Linked DNA regions of Homo sapiens: region 2 is linked to region 1. The links are contacts of gene promoters, found by promoter capture Hi-C in human tissues and cell types (Jung and others, 2019). All regions are on one chromosome and are shown on one strand. Each heading gives the region's core, a stretch centred on a gene start or on the middle of the fragment in contact. The rest is flanking DNA. Distances are from core to core; before and after follow the strand shown.

Region 1 (3,730 bases), core at 655-3,154:
GTTTCCTGAATACAGCACACAGATGGGTCTTGACTGTTTATCCAATTTGCCAGTCTGTGCCTTTTAATTGGAGCATTGAGCCCATTTACATTTAAGGTTAGTATTGTTATGTGTGAATTTGATCCTGTCATTATGATGTTAGCTGGTTATTTTGCTCATTAGTTGATGCAGTTTCTTCCTAGCCTTGATGGTCTTTACAATTTGGCATGTTTTTGCAGTGGCTGGTACCAGTTGTTCCTTTCCATGTTTAGTGCTTCCTTCAGGAGCTCTTTTAGGGCAGGCCTGGTGGTGACAAAATCTCTCAGCATTTGCTTGTCTGTAAAGTATTTTATTTCTCCTTCACTTATGAAGCTTAGTTTGGCTGGATATGAAATTCCGGGTTGAAAATTCTTTTCTTTAAGACTGTTGCCTTCTTTAGAATATTTATTTAGGGTATTGTGACAAAGTCAAAAGGTGATGCAGGACAAAAATCATTATATGCAGGACATGTCCTGTATGTATAGGAATCTTGGAAATTTTATTAGTGATGTCTTTCATGCTACTAACACATTTGAAAAACACCTACTGAGAGCTCGTATGTGTTCCTTGGATGTGTATTTTAACAGTGAATTATCAAGACAGCACAACTTCACTGTTGATTTTTACCATTCTGATATCTTCTTTACAATTGCTCAGCATTTTCAGGAAAAAAGAGTCACATTTTGTTGACAAAGTGTGGTCAAGATCACAACACAACCATATGCTTAACTTCATTCTTTCACTTATACTTTAGTATTCAGGCTCAAACTTTACTGAGATCTTAACTTTGTCCATCTATCACAGATATTTCCTTAGAGCAATTTCTTTCATTATCTTCAAATAACTACGGAATCATTATTAATAGCTGTCAGGATTTTTCCCCCGGGGATAATCTCACCTCCTAACACAGACACCATACTTACAATGACAATGACAGGTTAAATGGTAATTGCACTGTGTTTTGCTGTGATGGAGACATCACTGATTACCCAGGCAGGAAGAGTTTTCTGAAGAAATCTGTCCACTGGTTTCAGGGAGACTCCACATCATCCCTCTTCCTTCTTCCACTCCAAGGCCTTGTTTGGAATATTTTCTCTTCCGTCTCTGACCAAACTGAAGCTCACAAAAGTTACTGTAAAGCTTGAGTGCACACATATTTAAAAAGCAACAAGGTAATAGTTATTAGCTTCTAGCTGTGAGTGTACGCAAAGAGACATTGTGGTGTGGTGTATCTATTTAGTTTTGCAGCTTTGGGGAACATCTGAAATGTCTCAACATTTCTGCGATCGGTGCATACTACACTCCAGGGAATCTAGGTCCAGGCCTTTTAAGAGGACAGAAGTCAGCCGGGCACCATGGCTCACTCCTGTAATCCCAGCACTTTGGGAGGCCGAAGCAGGCAAATCACAAAGTCAGGAGTTCGAGACCAGCCTGGCCAACATGGTGAAATCCCGTACTCTGCTAAAAGTACTAAAATTAGCCTGGCGTGGTGGCGGGCCCCTGTAGTCCCAATTACTTGGGAGGCTGAGGCAGGAGAATCGCTTGAACCCGGGAGGCGGAGGTTGCAGTCAGCCGAGATCGCGCCACTGCACTGCAGCCTGGGAGACAGAGCGAGACTCTGTCTCAAAAAAAAAAAAAAAAAAAAAAAAGAGGACGGAAGTCCTGTCAGCCCTTTGAAACTCGGGTTACTTTTCCCAAACAACTTGGCCCTCCTACTTCGAGTTTTCCCAAGAGCCCAGGCCGAGAATCCCCTGCCTTGAAGGATAGCTCAGTGGGAACCACACTCTACCCACAAACCTATACGTTGCATACCCAATGAGGGCCCAGGAGAGGGGTGTTTCAGTGCCTGCGGGGGGTGCGTGGGCGGGACTTCCGGCTCCTCCTTGTAGCGGACATTTTGTTTCTGTCAGGCTGTCCCTGGCCGGGGTTCTGTAACGCTTGTGTGGGCCGCAGGTGGAGGTGTTGGGAAAGCGCGGAGGAGATGTTGTCCCCAGTGTCCCGAGACGCGTCTGATGCTCTGCAGGGACGGAAGTGCCTGCGTCCCCGATCGAGACGCCTGCCGCTCCCGGCAGCTGTCCGCGCCCACGGTCCTATGGCGGAGCTAACGGACTCCGCGCGGGTGGGTGCTGCGTCCTCCGGGCCCTCAGTCACCCTTTCTCCGACTCCGAATCGTAAAGTGCCTGCAGCCCCTGTGTCCCAGGACAGCGACGCACTCTTGGGGCGGGGTCCTATCTCGGTGTGGGTGGGTGTGGGAGAGTTACGGGCGGAGGGGACGGCGCAGGTAAAGGCTCGGGGGTGCTGCTGACCCCCAAACATTTGGGAGACAGGGTTCTCATCAACACAGAGCAGAGTTTGAGGAACTGTGACTGGAATGGCAGGCTGAGAAGTTGTCGCTTCATTCTGAGGGCGTTGAGATTAACTGAGGGTTTTGAATAGAAGGACGTGATCTTAGCTGGGATTTTAAGTGTCTCGAAATTTGCTCAGGGGAGAACATTAGTTTGGGGTGGGGACTGCGAGGATGGATACGAGGAGACCGGTAAGGAGGCTACTGCAGTGGATTCCAGGAATGCTTTGGTGGTGGATGTACCAAGAGTAATGGCAGGTGAGTGGGTAGAAGTGATCATATTCTGGGTAGGTTTTAAATTTGAAACCAACAGGATTTTCTGCTCCATCATATGCAGCTATGACTGAAAGTAAGGCATGAAAGAGCAAGGTGTTTTTGTTGTTTTTCCATGAACGTTTGGATTTTGGAATGGTGACTTTGAGATGTCTCAGAGTGGAGGCTTCCTCACTTAGGCAACTAGAGAGGAAGGTCTGAAGTTGTGGGGAAGGGGCTGGGCTTAGAATATCTTTGGGGTGAAGGGAGCGGTCTGGAGTAGGTCAAGGCCAGGAGGTCAGATTTAAGTGGGGCAGTCTTAAGTATGTTATTTCATATCTCTGGGGTAAGAGATGAGAAGGCTGGGACTGCAGGGCAGGGAAGAGGGAGTGGGCATTCTTGAGACTCCCCCCAGAAGAGAAGGGTCCTGCCATTTGAAAGGGTTCTTTTCAGTGTTTGCAGGAGGAGAGAGCTGTAGGGTATGAGGAGTTTGGCCTGGGATGGCAACGATGGGTGGTGTGCTATTGCTACTATCTGATTATCTCACCCTCATTTTGTGTGTTTTCTTTTAGTTTTAGTTTATTTATTTTTTTTATTTTTTTTGAGACGAAGTCTCACTCTGTCGCCCAGGGTGGGATGCAGTGGCTTATTGCAACCTCTACCTCCCGGGTTCAAGAGATTCTCCCGCCTCAGCCTCCCAAGTAGTTGAGATTACAGGTGCCCACAACCACCCCTGGCTAATTTTAGTATTTATAGTAGAGACGGGGGTGGGGAGGTGGGAGGGGTGGGGTGGGGTGGGGAGGTGGGAGGGGTGGGGTGGGGGCGGGGGAGTGGGGGGGACGTTCACCGTGTTGGCCCAGGTGGTCTTGAACTCCCGACCTCAACTGATCCACCGGCCCCAGCCTTCCAAAGTGTTTGGATTACAGTTGTGAGCCACTGCACTTGGCTTTGGTTTTATTTTATTTATTTATTTTTTTTTTGGAGACGAGTCTCGCTCTGTCACCCAGGCTGGAGTGCAATGGTGCGATCTTGGCTCACTGCAGCTTCTGCCTCCCAGATTCAAGTGATTCTCCTGCCTCAGTTTTCCCAGTAGCTGGGATTACAGGCATGCATCAC
Region 2 (3,730 bases), core at 361-2,860, 850 kb before region 1:
CGGCCTCCCAAAGTGCTAGGATTACAGGCGTGAGCCACCGCGCCCGGCCACTATTTTCTTTTTCCCTGTTTGTCCCCTAGCCCGGAGAACAGGTTCCCTTCAGACTGCCAAATATAATTTCAAAACAGTTAAAAACATGACTCTCAGTGAGCATGTGTCAAAAGATTTATTTACCGTACTGAGGGAAGCAGCAAGATGATTCTAGGAAGACAGGAAAGGAAGAATAAACACTGGCCGGCCGCGGTGGCTCACACCTGTAATTCCAGCAATTTGGGAGGCCGAGGTGGGCGGATCACCAGAGGTCTGGAGGTCAAGACCAGTCTGGCCAACATGGTAAAACCCCATCTCTACTAAAAATACAAAAATCAGCCGGGTGTGGTGGAGCAGCCTGCAGTCCCAGCTACTCGGGAGGCTGAGGCAGGAGAATCGCTTGAACCTGGGAGACGGAGGTTGCAGTGAGCCGAGATCGTGCCACTGCACTCCAGTCTGGCAACAGCGAGACTCCGTCAAAAAAAAAAAAAAAAAAAAGAAAGAAAGAAAAAGAAAAACACTGAAATAAAAGCACAAAGTTGGATACAAAACTGCTTAGTGAGCTACAAAGCGATACACTGGACAGAAAGCATTTGCAACCTATCAACCTGTACAGGGTAGCATATAACTGGACAGCATCTGGACTCCTAAGTTTTCCTAACAGTTTTACCTCGGATTCTCCCTGTCTCTCTTCGTGCTGTCATCTTTCTCTAGGTCTTCGAAAACTGTCAATCCATCTTACTGTATCTCTAATTTCTGTCCCTTTTCTCCCTTCTTGTTTCTGTCCCTCTCCCTTCTTGTCTACCTCTTGAGTCTGGATATCTGCATTTCTTGTCTCTGTGAACCCATTCTGCGTTTCCTTCTTTGTGTCTCTTTCATCTGCATCCCTTTCTGATCTGCCTCTCTCTTGCTAACTGTTCTGACACCTGTTTGCCCGGCCCTGACCCTCTGATCCACTCAGCCCTCTTATAACTTGGACCCGTGTCTCTATGTTTGTTCACTTATTTTCACTGTCTCTCCTCGCGTCGAGTCTCCGGTCCTCCCAGTCTGTGAGTCTGTCTCTCTGTCTCTCTCTCTCTTCCTCCCGCCGGTCCTTCGTCTCTCTTTGCCCTTGAGTCTCTGGTCTCTCTCCGTCTCTCCTCGCTGTTTCTATCGATCGGCATCTCTCTGCCCCAGTACCCTTCCCCACCTCTTCATCCCACATGCCCCATTGCATTTTCAACGCCCGCCGCGTCTCCGGGTTACCCAGGCGATGTCGAGTCGTGTCCCCAGGTTACCATGGAGACGTTCAGGGCCCGCCCCTCGCCCATGATCACAGAGGAACGTCATCGCGCCGCGCGCGCACGTACACACGAAGGGCCTGCTGACTACATCTGCCGGAAAGCATCGGGCCAAGCCTTTCTCCATTTTGCGGTCTAGGAAGTAGCAGAGGCCCCTTCCTGTAGGGAGTTGCCATGGAGACGCGGTGGGGCACCGACGGAGTTCTAATGACGGCCGTGATTGGTGCAGGATCCTGCTAATCTCAGGAAGGCCCGTAGAGAAGTGAGGAAAACGTGGTGGGGGGCATGCGCGATCTGGTAGGCGGTGCTGCCGTCTGTTGTACCTGAGAGGCTTGCGCATGCCGACGCACGGATTCGAGGCGGGGAGCATGGGAAGAAGCGGCCAGGAGTATGACCTGATCATTGCGACCACCGCTAGGGGAAGGGAGGAGAGGGTGTAGAAACGGGGACGAGGGTGGGGGAAGGGCAAGGAGGCGCTCGAGCTGGTGCGCGGAGCATCCTGGGAGACGTAGTCCAGCGGGAGGGGGAAGTCGAAGACTGCGCGTGCTCAGGAGCGCGGAGCGGCCCGCTGAGCGCAGAGGTGAGGGCGGGGTCCTCTTAACCGGGAGGGCTATCGTGTGGACGGGGGCGGTGGCTGCAGACTCGGGGATTCCGGCTCCCCAGTGAGACCGGAAGCGCGGGGAACGAATCCGGGCAGTCCTTGCGGGAGCGCCCAGGGCTAGAGCGAGAGGCTTGTCAATCACTACTCGTTGCCACGACGACAGGCTTTGGGAGCCCCGCCCCCGGTTGCCTAGGCGTCGTCTGGACCTACCTTGGCACCCTGGAGCGGAAGTTGCCGCCTGGACTTCTGGGAAGTGTATTTCGGGACCCTCCGTAGGTACCTGCCATCTTGGCTATGACCCAAGTCTCTCCCAGGGTTTCAGGTTGACTTGGCACCTTGAAGAGTGGAGGCTTGGCCCCCAGGATGAGGCGGCCCTCGAAATCGATGCCACCCACGGGGGAATGATTCTGCGGTGCCATCCCCTTCATAAACGCAGATTCCTTCCTAAAGCCGCAGCTGCAGAAGGAACAGCGCGAGGAGGGAGGTCAGCCCCACTTGCAAATGGGGAAACAAGTTCTCGAAGGCACAGTGATCTGAAGATGGGCGGAATCAGAGTCTCGGGACTTCCTTGCAGGCTCCTGTTCCGGCAGTCTTGGAGCCTTTGCCGCCCCCCCACCCATTGCGAAGCTCCCCCATCCCCTTCCAACCCCAGCTAAATCAGGAAGCTGAGATGGGGCATTGCGTAGTGTGATGTTGGGCTTAGAAGATGGGGCTGAGTAGGGAGAGAGGGTGCTGCCTGGGAGCTGAGCCATACAAGTGACTGCACAGGTTGACATGGAGGATTAGGTGGAGTGAGGCTTCCAAGCAGGGAGGGGAATGATGGTGGGGCCCAAATGAGGAGCCACATCGAAGTAGATGAGAGAATAGAAGGTGAAGTAAGGGCTGGCGTTGGGTAGGGGGAGACGCCAGCAGTGATGCTGATGCCCAGGCTGTAGGTGTATAGGTGCCATCCACCTGGTAAAGAGAGAGCTGTAGCGCAGGAATGAGGTTGCACATGTAGAAGAAGGGAAGGATACAGGGGAGAGAAGTGTCTTCTAGTCCTAAAAAACAGCCTGTGGGCTGGCATGGTGGAACAAACCTGTAAGTCCCAGCACTTCGGGAGGTCAAGGTAAGAGGATCATCTGCTTGAGCCCAGGAGTTCAAGAACAGCCTAGGCAACATAGTAAGATCCCATCCCTACAGAAAAATTAAGAAATTAGCCGGATGTCGTGGCACACACCTGTTGTCTCAGCTACTTGGGAGGCCGATCTCTGGAGCCCGGGAGGTCAAGTCTGCAGTGACGCATGATCTCGCCACTGCACTTCAGCCTGGGCAACTGACTGACAGCATGTCTCAAAGAAAAGAAAAAAAAGCCTGTGTTTGGAGCAGGGAGACTGTCAGAGACTTTGCACAGGCCCAAGCGGAGAGAAGACCAGGGATACAGGTGGCTAAGGGAGGGCTTCCAGCTGCATAAGTCTGTGGGTTGTAGATGGCCTTTCTTTGCCTGTTTCCTCATCTGCCTTCCACATGGGGTAGGTCTGAGGATCAAACGGTACAGCATAGACTAGGCAGTGAAGCATTCACTGTACTCCTTTTGCAACAGCCTCATCCTATTTCTTCACCAGGGGCAGACACTGGCCTCAGATACCTGACCTGGTACCCTCTATGAGGCCTGCGGTGCTGGGCTCCCCAGACCGAGCACCCCCAGAAGATGAGGGGCCTGTCATGGTGAAGCTAGAGGACTCTGAGGAGGAGGGTGAGGCTGCCTTATGGGACCCAGGCCCTGAAGCTGCACGCCTGCGTTTCCGGTGCTTCCGCTATGAGGAGGCCACAGGGCCCC

The links. Contacts are between HindIII fragments. The study calls those that stand out against the background at their distance.
Region 2: the fragment with the promoter of MZF1 here is called in contact with the fragment with the promoter of ZNF671 in region 1 in 1 of the 25 tissues and cell types used here (lymphoblastoid cells).

What each region holds. Positions count from the first base shown.
Region 1 is chr19:57,725,798-57,729,527 of GRCh38, reverse strand. It overlaps ZNF671 (zinc finger protein 671), which reads left to right and starts at 1,904. Exons shown (of 4, transcript NM_024833.3): 1 at 1,904-2,137. The coding sequence starts at 2,000. RefSeq lists enhancers at 1,558-1,607, 1,748-2,187, 1,705-2,205 and a silencer at 1,526-1,751. The HindIII fragment of the contact is 7,784 bases long and covers 756-3,730 here.
Region 2 is chr19:58,571,215-58,574,944 of GRCh38, reverse strand. It overlaps MZF1 (myeloid zinc finger 1), which reads left to right and starts at 1,610. Exons shown (of 6, transcript NM_198055.2): 1 at 1,610-1,890; 2 at 3,516-3,730. The coding sequence starts at 3,556. It overlaps MZF1-AS1 (MZF1 antisense RNA 1), which reads right to left. Exons shown (of 6, transcript NR_027334.2): 4 at 2,990-3,087; 5 at 2,122-2,367; 6 at 148-2,028. RefSeq lists enhancers at 1,236-1,665, 1,726-1,815, 1,184-2,043, 2,044-2,905. The HindIII fragment of the contact is 16,370 bases long and covers 1-3,730 here.